2 separate regions of the Homo sapiens genome follow, and region 1 is linked to region 2. Evidence: promoter capture Hi-C in human tissues and cell types (Jung and others, 2019). All regions are on one chromosome and are shown on one strand. The core of a region is centred on a gene start or on the middle of the fragment in contact, and the rest is flanking DNA. Distances in the headings are between cores, read along the strand shown.

Region 1 (4,717 bases), core at 179-2,678, 41 kb before region 2:
ACTTTTGTATTTTTAGTAGAGACAGGGTTTCTCCATGTTGGCCAGGCTGGTCTTGAACACCTGGCCTCAAGTGATCTGCCTGTCTTGGCCTCCCAAAGTGCTGGGATTACAGGCATGAGCCACCATGCCCAGCAGGTCAACTGTTTTTGCAAGCATTTAGCCAGAGTCATGCTGTGCTGTTAATCAGTGTCCTGGAGAATGGGTTGCTTGGAAATCTTGGCGCCCCCTCAGTAGTAACAGCCTTGGTTTAAGGGCGCAGAGTGGAGAGTAAATGCAAGGGCTATAACAAGGGCATTCATGCTGTGGGTTAAGATCCACAAATCGCTAGGAATGTGTATACTCTGGGTAGTAAGTTTGTAGTATTAGAAGGTTTAATGACAAGTATTTGAAGAGCTGAAGTTAAGTGTTGGGAGGCCATCCCTTATGAAGGACAATGAATGGCAAGTAAAAGACCAAGTTCTGTTCCTGGGTCCATTAATTTAGTTAAAAAGGCAAAGTTCTTTCAGCACACATATCTGCATGCAGTCACGTGCTGCCTAAGGATGCTTCATTCAACAATGAGCCTCACAGCCGTGCTACACAATAAGATTATAATACTGTATTTTTACTGTACCTTTTAACATTGTGTTACAATGGCCTACAAGAAGCTTGTGTGGATGGCTTTGAATGTGGCCCAACACGAACTAATAAATTTTGCTAAAACATGAGTTTTGTTTGGTGACTTTTTTTTTTTTCTTTTTAGTTCATCAGCTATTGTTGGTGTATTTTATGTGTGGCCCAAGACAATTCTTCCAGTGTGGCCCAGGGAAGTGAAAAGATACGACACCCCTGGCCTACAATTTCAGCACAGTAACGTGCTGTACAGGTTTGTAGCCTAGGAGCAACAGGCTGTGTCATATAACCTAGGCATGTAGTAGGCTGTGCCATCCAGGTGTGCGTAAGTACACGATGATGTTCGTAGAAAACACAAAATCGCCTAACGATGCGTTTCTCAAAACATGTCCCTGTCATTGAGTAATGCAAGACTACTAAGTTTACTACCAGCCCATTTTGTAGATAAAGGTACAAGCGGTGAGTTAGGTTAGAGCCCAGGTTGGGAAAGAGCATAGAACCAGGTGAGTTGTGGAGGAGGGCTGGTGAGGTTGAGCCAATGGCAACTGCCCTAAAACTAGGAGGTGATTGTGTTAGAATACAGCAGACTGAATAATTGATAGAGATTTATTTGGCTCACAGAAGTCGAAAGGCATGGCATTGGCATCTGGTGAGGGCCTTCTTACTGCATCATAACATGGTGGAAGGGCTGGACAGCAAATGGGGGCCAAACCTATACTGTTGTGAGCCCACTTCATTCATGAGGGCAGAGGCTCAGGACCTAATACCTTTAAAAACCCCACCTTGGCCAGCCACAGTTGCTCACACCTGTAATCCCAGCACTTGCCAAGGGGGGTGAATCCTTGAGACCAACCTGGGCAACGTGGCACAACCCTATCTCTACAAACAATACAAAAATTAGCCAGGCATGATGGCACACACCTGTAGTCCCAGCTACTTAGGAGGCTGAGGCAGGAGGAAGGACGATCACTGGTGCCCAGGAAGCCAAGGCTATAGTTAGCTGTGATCATGTCACTGCCACTGTACTCCAGCCTGGGTGACAGAGTCTCCAAAAAAAAAAAAAAAAAAGCGCCCCACCTCCCAATAACTGTTCAATTGGCAATTAAATTTCAACATGGGTTTTGGTTTGGGTGGAGCATTCAAACTATAGCAATGATTCTAACCCCAGCATCAGGAGCTTGTCGTGTTAAAGGTCCTACAAAACCAGTCTGTTTCATGAACACAAAATAATTTAGCCTTGGAGCCAACCAAGGCTCCAAATACAGTGGCATTGTTCAAAATATTTGAGTGAATTTTTTTTTTTTTTGAGATGGAGTCTTGCTCTGTTGCCCAGACTGGAGTGCAATGGCACGGTCTCGCCTCACTACAGTTTCTGCCTCCCAGGTTCGAGCGATTCTCCTGCCTCAGCCTCCCGAGTAGCTGGGACTACAGGCACGTGCCACCACGACTGGCTAATTTTTGTATTTTTAGTAGAGACAGGGTTTCACCATGTTGGCCAGGATGGTCCCGATCTCCTTGACCTTGTGATCCGCCTGCCTCAGCCTCCCAAAGTGCTGGGATTACAGGCATGAGCACCGTGCCTGGCTGGGTGAGACTTTTAAATCAGTAAGATTTGACTGTAATGTAGGAGGTTTTTTCTTGGAGGAACTTCTAGAGCAAGGCGGGAGGCCAAACACACAAAATACTACAATCAGGATGAAACAGCAAGAGAAGAGAATTCCTTCTATGCTGTAGGTTGTGAACACGGCCAGGTTCTGTGCTAGGCTGTTCCATCTCATGCTTTTTAAGGACCTCCAATTCTCTAGGATGGGATTATTCCAAGTTAAACCATCAACATCTATTAAATCAGCTCTGTGAAGCCAAGCGAAACAAGTATCTGTGAACACAGAACTGAGGAAGTTGGTGAACACCCTTATCCACCTGATGTAACCTATCTCAGGCTGAATGAAGAAAAGTATAATTAAAAAGTCATGATGGGCCGGGCGCGGTGGCTCACATCTGTAATCCTAGCACTTTGGGAGGCCAAGACAGGCGGATTGCCTGAGCTCAGGAGTTCGAGACCAGCCTGGGCAACAACGGTGAAACCCTGTCTCTACTAAAATACAAAAAATTAGCCGGGCATGGCGGCGTGCGCCTGTAGTCCCAGGTGGGAGGCTGAGGCAGGACAATCGCTTGAACCCAGGAGGCAGAGGTTGCAGTGAGCCAAGATTGCGCCACTGCACTCCAGCCTGGGCAACAGAGCGAGACTCCGTCTCCAAAAAAAAAAAAGAAGGCATGATGGCTGGTTATGGTGGCTCATGCCTGTAATCCCAGCACTTTGAGAGACCAAGGCAGGCAGATTGCTTGAGTCCAGGACTTCGAGACCAGCCTGGGCAACATGACTAAACCCTGTCTCTACAAAAAATACAAAAATTAGCCAGGCGTGGTGTTGCATGCCTATGCTCCCAGCTACTGGGGAGGCCAAGGTGGGAAAATGGCTTGAGCCCAGGAGGCAGAGGTCGCAGTGCGCCAAGATGGCACCACTGCACTCCAACCTGGGTGACAGAGATAGACACTGTCTCAAAAAAAGAAAACAATGTGATGTGGACATTCCCAAGGTAAGTTGTGGAGCCTCATCTAGAACCCAGGACTCCCTGTGTACCCCTCCTCCCACCAGCTGCACCTGTACATTCACAATTTCTGTAACTCATTTTCCCGGTGGAGTGGGAGCAGAAATAAATAAATAAATGCTCATCTTACAGAGATTGTTGAGTGCTTGGTATCTGTAGTACACTACAGGGCATGTCAGGCAGACCCCCTGCACTCAGGGAGCTGACTGCCTGGTAGGTAGATGTAAGACCAGCACACAGCCTTGACGCAGGACAGAAAGGGACCCAAAGAGCCACAGGATCTCTGAGGACTGCGAAATCTTCCCCACTCCCATCCTCAGCCAAGGGGGCCAAGAAGGCTTCATAAAGGAGGTGCTGTCTGAAGCCAAGCATTTCGAGCAGAGAAAAAGAGTCACACCCAGAGGTGAAAAGGCACCTGGAAGCCGGCGCAGTGGCTCACGCCTGTAATCCCAGCACTTAGGGAGGCCAAGGCCAGCAGATCACTTGAGGTCAGGAGTTCGAGGCCAGCCTGGTCAACATGGCGAAATCCCATTTCTACTAAAAATACAAAAATTAGCTGGGCGTGGTGGCGGGCGAGATCGTGCCACTGCACTCCAGCCTGGGCAACAGAGCGAGACTGCGTCTCAAAAACAAAAACAACAACAAAAAAAAGAAAGATTGATTATGCTGAAAAGGTCCCTCAGCTCTCTGCTCCTTAGTCCTCCTCTCCCACCCCAAACCCCCCCAGCCCTCCTGCCCCCATCCCCACACGCTGCAACAGCTACACGCAAGGACAAACTGAGTGTTTCTTAAGATGGTGTTATGAAGACAAAATGAAAACTGGTCAGCTAAAACTGCATAAGAAGCTACAAAACAACTTTAGAACCTATTCCAATTGCTGTCAACTCTATGAATAAGCCAGAAAAACACATAGCATATTTGGAGAACTGAACATGACCCCCTTCCTGGTTTATCAGCCTCGATGGTGCCCCCTTGTGGCAGTAGTGTAAAAACACAGTTTACTGTGCACAAGGCTTTACAATTTTTCAATTAAGAGCTCCTTGACCAATTTTTAACTTTTTTTTTGGTGGGGGGACAGAGTCTCACTCTGTTTCCCAGGCTGGAGTGCAGTGGGGTCTCCTGCTAGGCACCATGCACCCTTGTTGCCCCCTCCTGCTCAAGCCTCTCATTTCTTCCACTCTCTAAATGCAAGCGTTCCCAAGGGATTGTCCTGACTGTCCTTCCCTCTCCCTTGGTGGTCTCACCCTATATCATGGCTTTGTTTGTCTTCAGTGTTCCTGATCCTAAGGCTCTGTGTCCAGCTACGACTTCTCGTCCAAGTCCAGACTCCATCGATAGCTCTTTGCCGCGTTCATTCATTCATTCATTCATTCATGCCTATGGAGCACTCACTCAGTGCAGGTGCTGTGCCAGGTGTGGGGGCCCAGTGATGAACAAGAGAAACCACACTCCTCGTGGGGTTTGCAGTACTGCAGTCGGAGAGTCAGATTCTAAAC
Region 2 (4,292 bases), core at 767-3,266:
AGAGACTGCCAATCAGGAAATAAACAAGACCCCCACCCCTACAGGACAAAACTAGAATAAGGGCTTGCCTGGATCAGGAAGGCAGTACACACCTCCTCCAGCAAATATAACATCACTTTGACGTCTTCCTGGGTGATCTTTTTGACTGGCGGAGGTAGGTTAGGACACAGTGCTGCAGGAGGCGGCAGGTGGGGAGAAAAGGCCCAGCCAGGTCAGGAAAAAGGAGCAGATGCTACCAGCAAACAGCTGTTTCCCGTCCTATCGTCAGTTCTCCAACAAGGGTCATCGGGAGAGAAGACTGGGCTCCCCTCCTGCCCCCCACATCCTCCCCTTACCCCTCGGCACTCAACACTCCCTTCCCTGCTCCCAGGGCCAAGTGGACAGGGTTTTTAGGTTTTTGGGTTTTTTTTGGTTTTTTTTTTTTTTGGTTTTTTTTTTTTTTTAGACAAAGCCTTGCTCTTGTCCTCCAGGCTGGAGTGCGATGGCGAGATCTCAGCTCACTGCAACGTCTGCCTCCCAGATTCAAGCAATTCTCCTGCCTCAACCTCCCGAGTAGCTGGGGTTATACACGCCCGCCACCACGCCCAGCTTATTTTTGTATTTTTAGTAGAGACGGGGTTTCACCATGTTGGCCAGGCTGGTCTCGAACTCCTGACCTAGTGATCCGCCCGCCTCGGCCTGCCAAAGTGCTGGCTGGGATTACAGGCGTCAGCCACCGCGCCCGGCTTTTTTTTTTTTTTTTTTTTTTTTACCCCTGGAGGAGCCTGAGGTAAGGGGGTCACAGTCCTCCAGGCTCAGAAACTGGGCTCTCCGGACACCTGGGTCCCTGGCGCCTAGAATGGAGACAGCCAGGGGAAGTACAGCCTCAGACTGGCTCATCACCCCCTACCCAGGAGGCAGTGCAATGGAGTCTCCTGGGTCATACAAACAGACGCAGCCACTCACCCTGCACCTGTTGCGTGTGCAGAGGACAGGAGGAAGACTTCACCAGATTAGGAGACACTCGAGCCTCTAGGCCCAATCCAGAGATCTCCCCCGACCCGCAGGAGGATAGGAGAGACAAGGGGCAGGAAAAGAGCGCGACTTTGCCCCCATACCCGCAACCAAAAAGTGGGCAAAACTTCCCCCTCCGCCCGCCCACCCACCCCTCCATCGCACGCAAGCCCGGTCGGCCAGCGCAGACTCAGAGCGCGCGGGACAGCGCCCTCCCGCAGCCCCCCGCCCCTCTCCTGGCACTGCGGTAGACCCAGGAGAGGGGCGCTGAAGGGGTGCAGATCTGCCGCAGCAAGAGGCGCGTGGAGGTGGGTGGGCGAGCGTGCAGGCCCCAGAACCTGACTCACGGGCACAAACCAGGGGACAAGAGCAGAGGAGGAGATGGAGAAGGGGCGACCAGACAGACACCGCAGTGACATCGCGGGGGTGGTGGACGGGTGACACTGAGTGCTAGAGGGGGCGGGGTGCCTGGACCCGATGGGGCCACTTCCTCCCTGGAGTTGCCCCAGTCCCCACCCGGTCCAGGACCCCGGGGGCCCGATTTACCTTCCTCCAGCTCCCGAATAAAGGCGGCGCGCTCAGGGCCGGACACCCCGGGTCGCCGGCCAACGTAGGCGGCTGGCGTCTTCCAGATGCCCGCTGCCTTTCCAGTCCCCCGGCCAGTGGCCCGGGAACCAAACGGCCCTTGGAATACGAAGCGGGTCCACGGCGCGTCCGAATTGTCGGGCATAGACCGGACATCCCCTTGGATGGCCGAGAATGCGGACGGGCGCCGGGCTCCTGCCTTGGCTCCAGCCTCCGAGGCCGGGCGAGCTCCGGTGCGGGCTTCCGAGAGGAACTGGGATCCAGAGGTGGCTCGGGATCCTACTCTCTGTCCAGTGCCCCGTGCCTGCGGCTGCGCAGAGGGCTCCGGAGCGGGACTGGCTGAGGGCGAAGGTGCACAGGTGAGTGCTGCTGGGTCCCCGGGTCCGAGCCGGCTCCCCGCGCAGCACCGGCCCAACCTCTTCGGGCGCATCTCGAGTCTGCCGTCCGCTGCTGCGGCGGGACCTTTATAACCTGCGCCAGCCGCCGGGCCGGACCACGCGTAGGGGTGGGGGCTGCCGAGAAGCAACTAGTGGCAAGCGGGACTCAGAGCCGCGCGGGAGGGGAGCTAGTGGTGACGGAACAGAGCACAGTAAGAAAAGCAGGGCAAGAAGGGCGAGTGCAAGTTCCGGATGGCTCCGAGTTGGGATGGGAGCGAAAGATTTTTTCTGCCCTCTCCATCTCCGGAGAATGGTTCTGCCCAAAGCCGCGGCTGCCCCAGCACTCGCGGGTCCCTGGCTGGGGGCAGCCCCTCCCCAGCTGCCGCGCCGGGGTTTCGGGTGCCTTCCCTGGTGTAGAAGCTGCCAACCCAACGTTGTGCATACGGTCTGGGGTGGCCAGTGCATTAGGGCAGCGCTGCGTCTTTCCCGGTTGACTGGGAGAGACATTCCAAACTCCAGTGCGCTTCCAACGTGCTGCAACCCTGCCTGGCGCTGCAACCCTGCCTGGCGCTGCAACCCTGCCTGGCGCTGCAACCCTGCCTGGCGCTGCAACCCTGACCCTCGCGCTCACACCCCAGTGCTCGCGCCACTCGACGTCTTCCATTTGATTGGATTAACTGTTCTTCACCTCCAACCCTAGTTCGCTTTGCCCTCCTCTTGCCATGCTGGCGAACCCCTGTTCTCCTTGGGAGACGCCTCTTAAAAGTCTCCCTGTAGCCGGGCGCAGTGGCTCACGCCTGTAATCCCAGCACTTTGGGAGGCCGGGGCAGGCGAATCACCTGAGGTCAGGAGTTCCAGACAAGCCTGGCCACCTGGTGAAACCCTGTCTCTACTAAAAATACAAAAATTAGCCAAGCATGGTGGCGTGTGCCTGTAGTCCCAGCTACTCAAGAGGCTGAGGCAGGAGAATTGCTTGAACCTGGAAGGTAGAGGTTGCAGTGAACCGAAATTGTGCCAATGCACTCCAGCTGGGGCTACAGAGCGAGCCTACCCCTCAAAATAAATAAATAAATAGAATACTTTTTTTTTAAGTATCCTACTGGAAATGTTGGGTAGACAATTAGATGTATAAATCTGAATGTAGGGGAGAGACCGGGCTGGAGATTTAAATGTAGGAGTCATTGTTCTTTGATGACCATTTAAAGCTATGAGACTGGTGAGATCCCCAAGAGACTGAGAGAAGACAGGTAAGAGCGCCCAGGACTAACCCCCTAGGATTCAGAGGGCAGAAAGAAGAAGAGGAGGCATCAAAGGAAGACTGGGATGAGTGGGGCAGTGAAGTAGAGGAAAACCAGGAAAGTTGGGTCCTAGAAAGTAAAGAAAATGTTTCATGTAGAGAGTGGCCACCTGTGTTGGGTGGTGCTGTTGGGCCAGGCAAAGACTGAGGACAGAGACTCAGCTTGGCAAACTGGGGTCATGGGCAACCTTGGTGAGCTGGGGTCATGGCCTCGGCAAGAGCGGTCTTGCGGGGCCAGGCACAGTGGCTCACACCTGTAATCCTAGCACTCTGGGAAGCCAAGGCAGGTGGATCACCTGAGGTCAGGAGTTTGAGACCAACCCAGCCAACATAGTGAAACCCCATCTCTACTAAAATACAAAAATTAGCTCGGTGTGGTGGAACAAGCCTGTAAGCCCAGCTACTTGGAAGGCTGAGGCAGGGGAATTGCTTGAACCCAGGAGGCAGAAGTTTCAGTGAGCCGAGATTGCACCACTGCACTCCAGCCTGGGCAACAGAGCAAGACTTGTCTCAAAAAAAAAAAAAAAAAAAAAAAGAGCGGTCTTGGTAGAGGGGGTGAGAGAGACCAAAGAGGAGTGAGGAAATAACGAGAGGTAACAAAATGAAAACAGAAAGAAGGCTAGGCGCTGTGGCTCACACCTATAATCCCAGCACTTTGGGAGGCTTAGGAGGGTGAATTGCTTGAGCCCAGGAATTTGAGGCCAACCTGGGCAACATGGCAAAACCCTTTCGCTACAAAAAAATACAAGAATTGGCCGGGCGCAGTGACTCACACCTGTAATCCCAGCACTTTGGGAAGCCTAGGCGGGTGGATCGCCTGAGGTCAGGATTTTGATACCAGCCTGGCCAACATAGTGAAACCCCGTCTCTACTAAAAATACAAAAAATTAGTTGAGCATGGTGACGGGTGCCTGTAATCCCAGGTACTCAGGAGAATCGCTTGAACCCGGGAGGCGGAGGTTGCAGTGAGCCGAGATTGCGCCATTGCACTCCAACCTGGGCAACAAGAGCGAAACTCCGTCTCAAAAAAAAAAACATAG

Evidence for each region. The method cuts DNA at HindIII sites, captures the fragments that hold promoters and counts their contacts. A contact is called where the count stands out against the background at its distance.
Region 1: a contact is called between a fragment that was not itself captured here and the fragment with the promoter of HAP1 in region 2, in 2 of the 25 tissues and cell types used here (H1 embryonic stem cells and IMR-90 fibroblasts).

What each region holds. Positions count from the first base shown.
Region 1 is chr17:41,691,962-41,696,678 of GRCh38, forward strand. EIF1 (eukaryotic translation initiation factor 1) reads left to right here. Exons shown (of 4, transcript NM_005801.4): 4 at 1-707. Among named protein-coding and RNA genes, the nearest start is that of EIF1, 5.4 kb to the left of the region's middle. The HindIII fragment of the contact is 3,325 bases long and covers 1-3,091 here.
Region 2 is chr17:41,732,627-41,736,918 of GRCh38, forward strand. HAP1 (huntingtin associated protein 1) reads right to left here and starts at 2,017. Exons shown (of 11, transcript NM_177977.3): 1 at 1,540-2,017; 2 at 93-172. The coding sequence starts at 2,008. RefSeq lists an enhancer at 906-1,448. The HindIII fragment of the contact is 15,187 bases long and covers 1-4,292 here.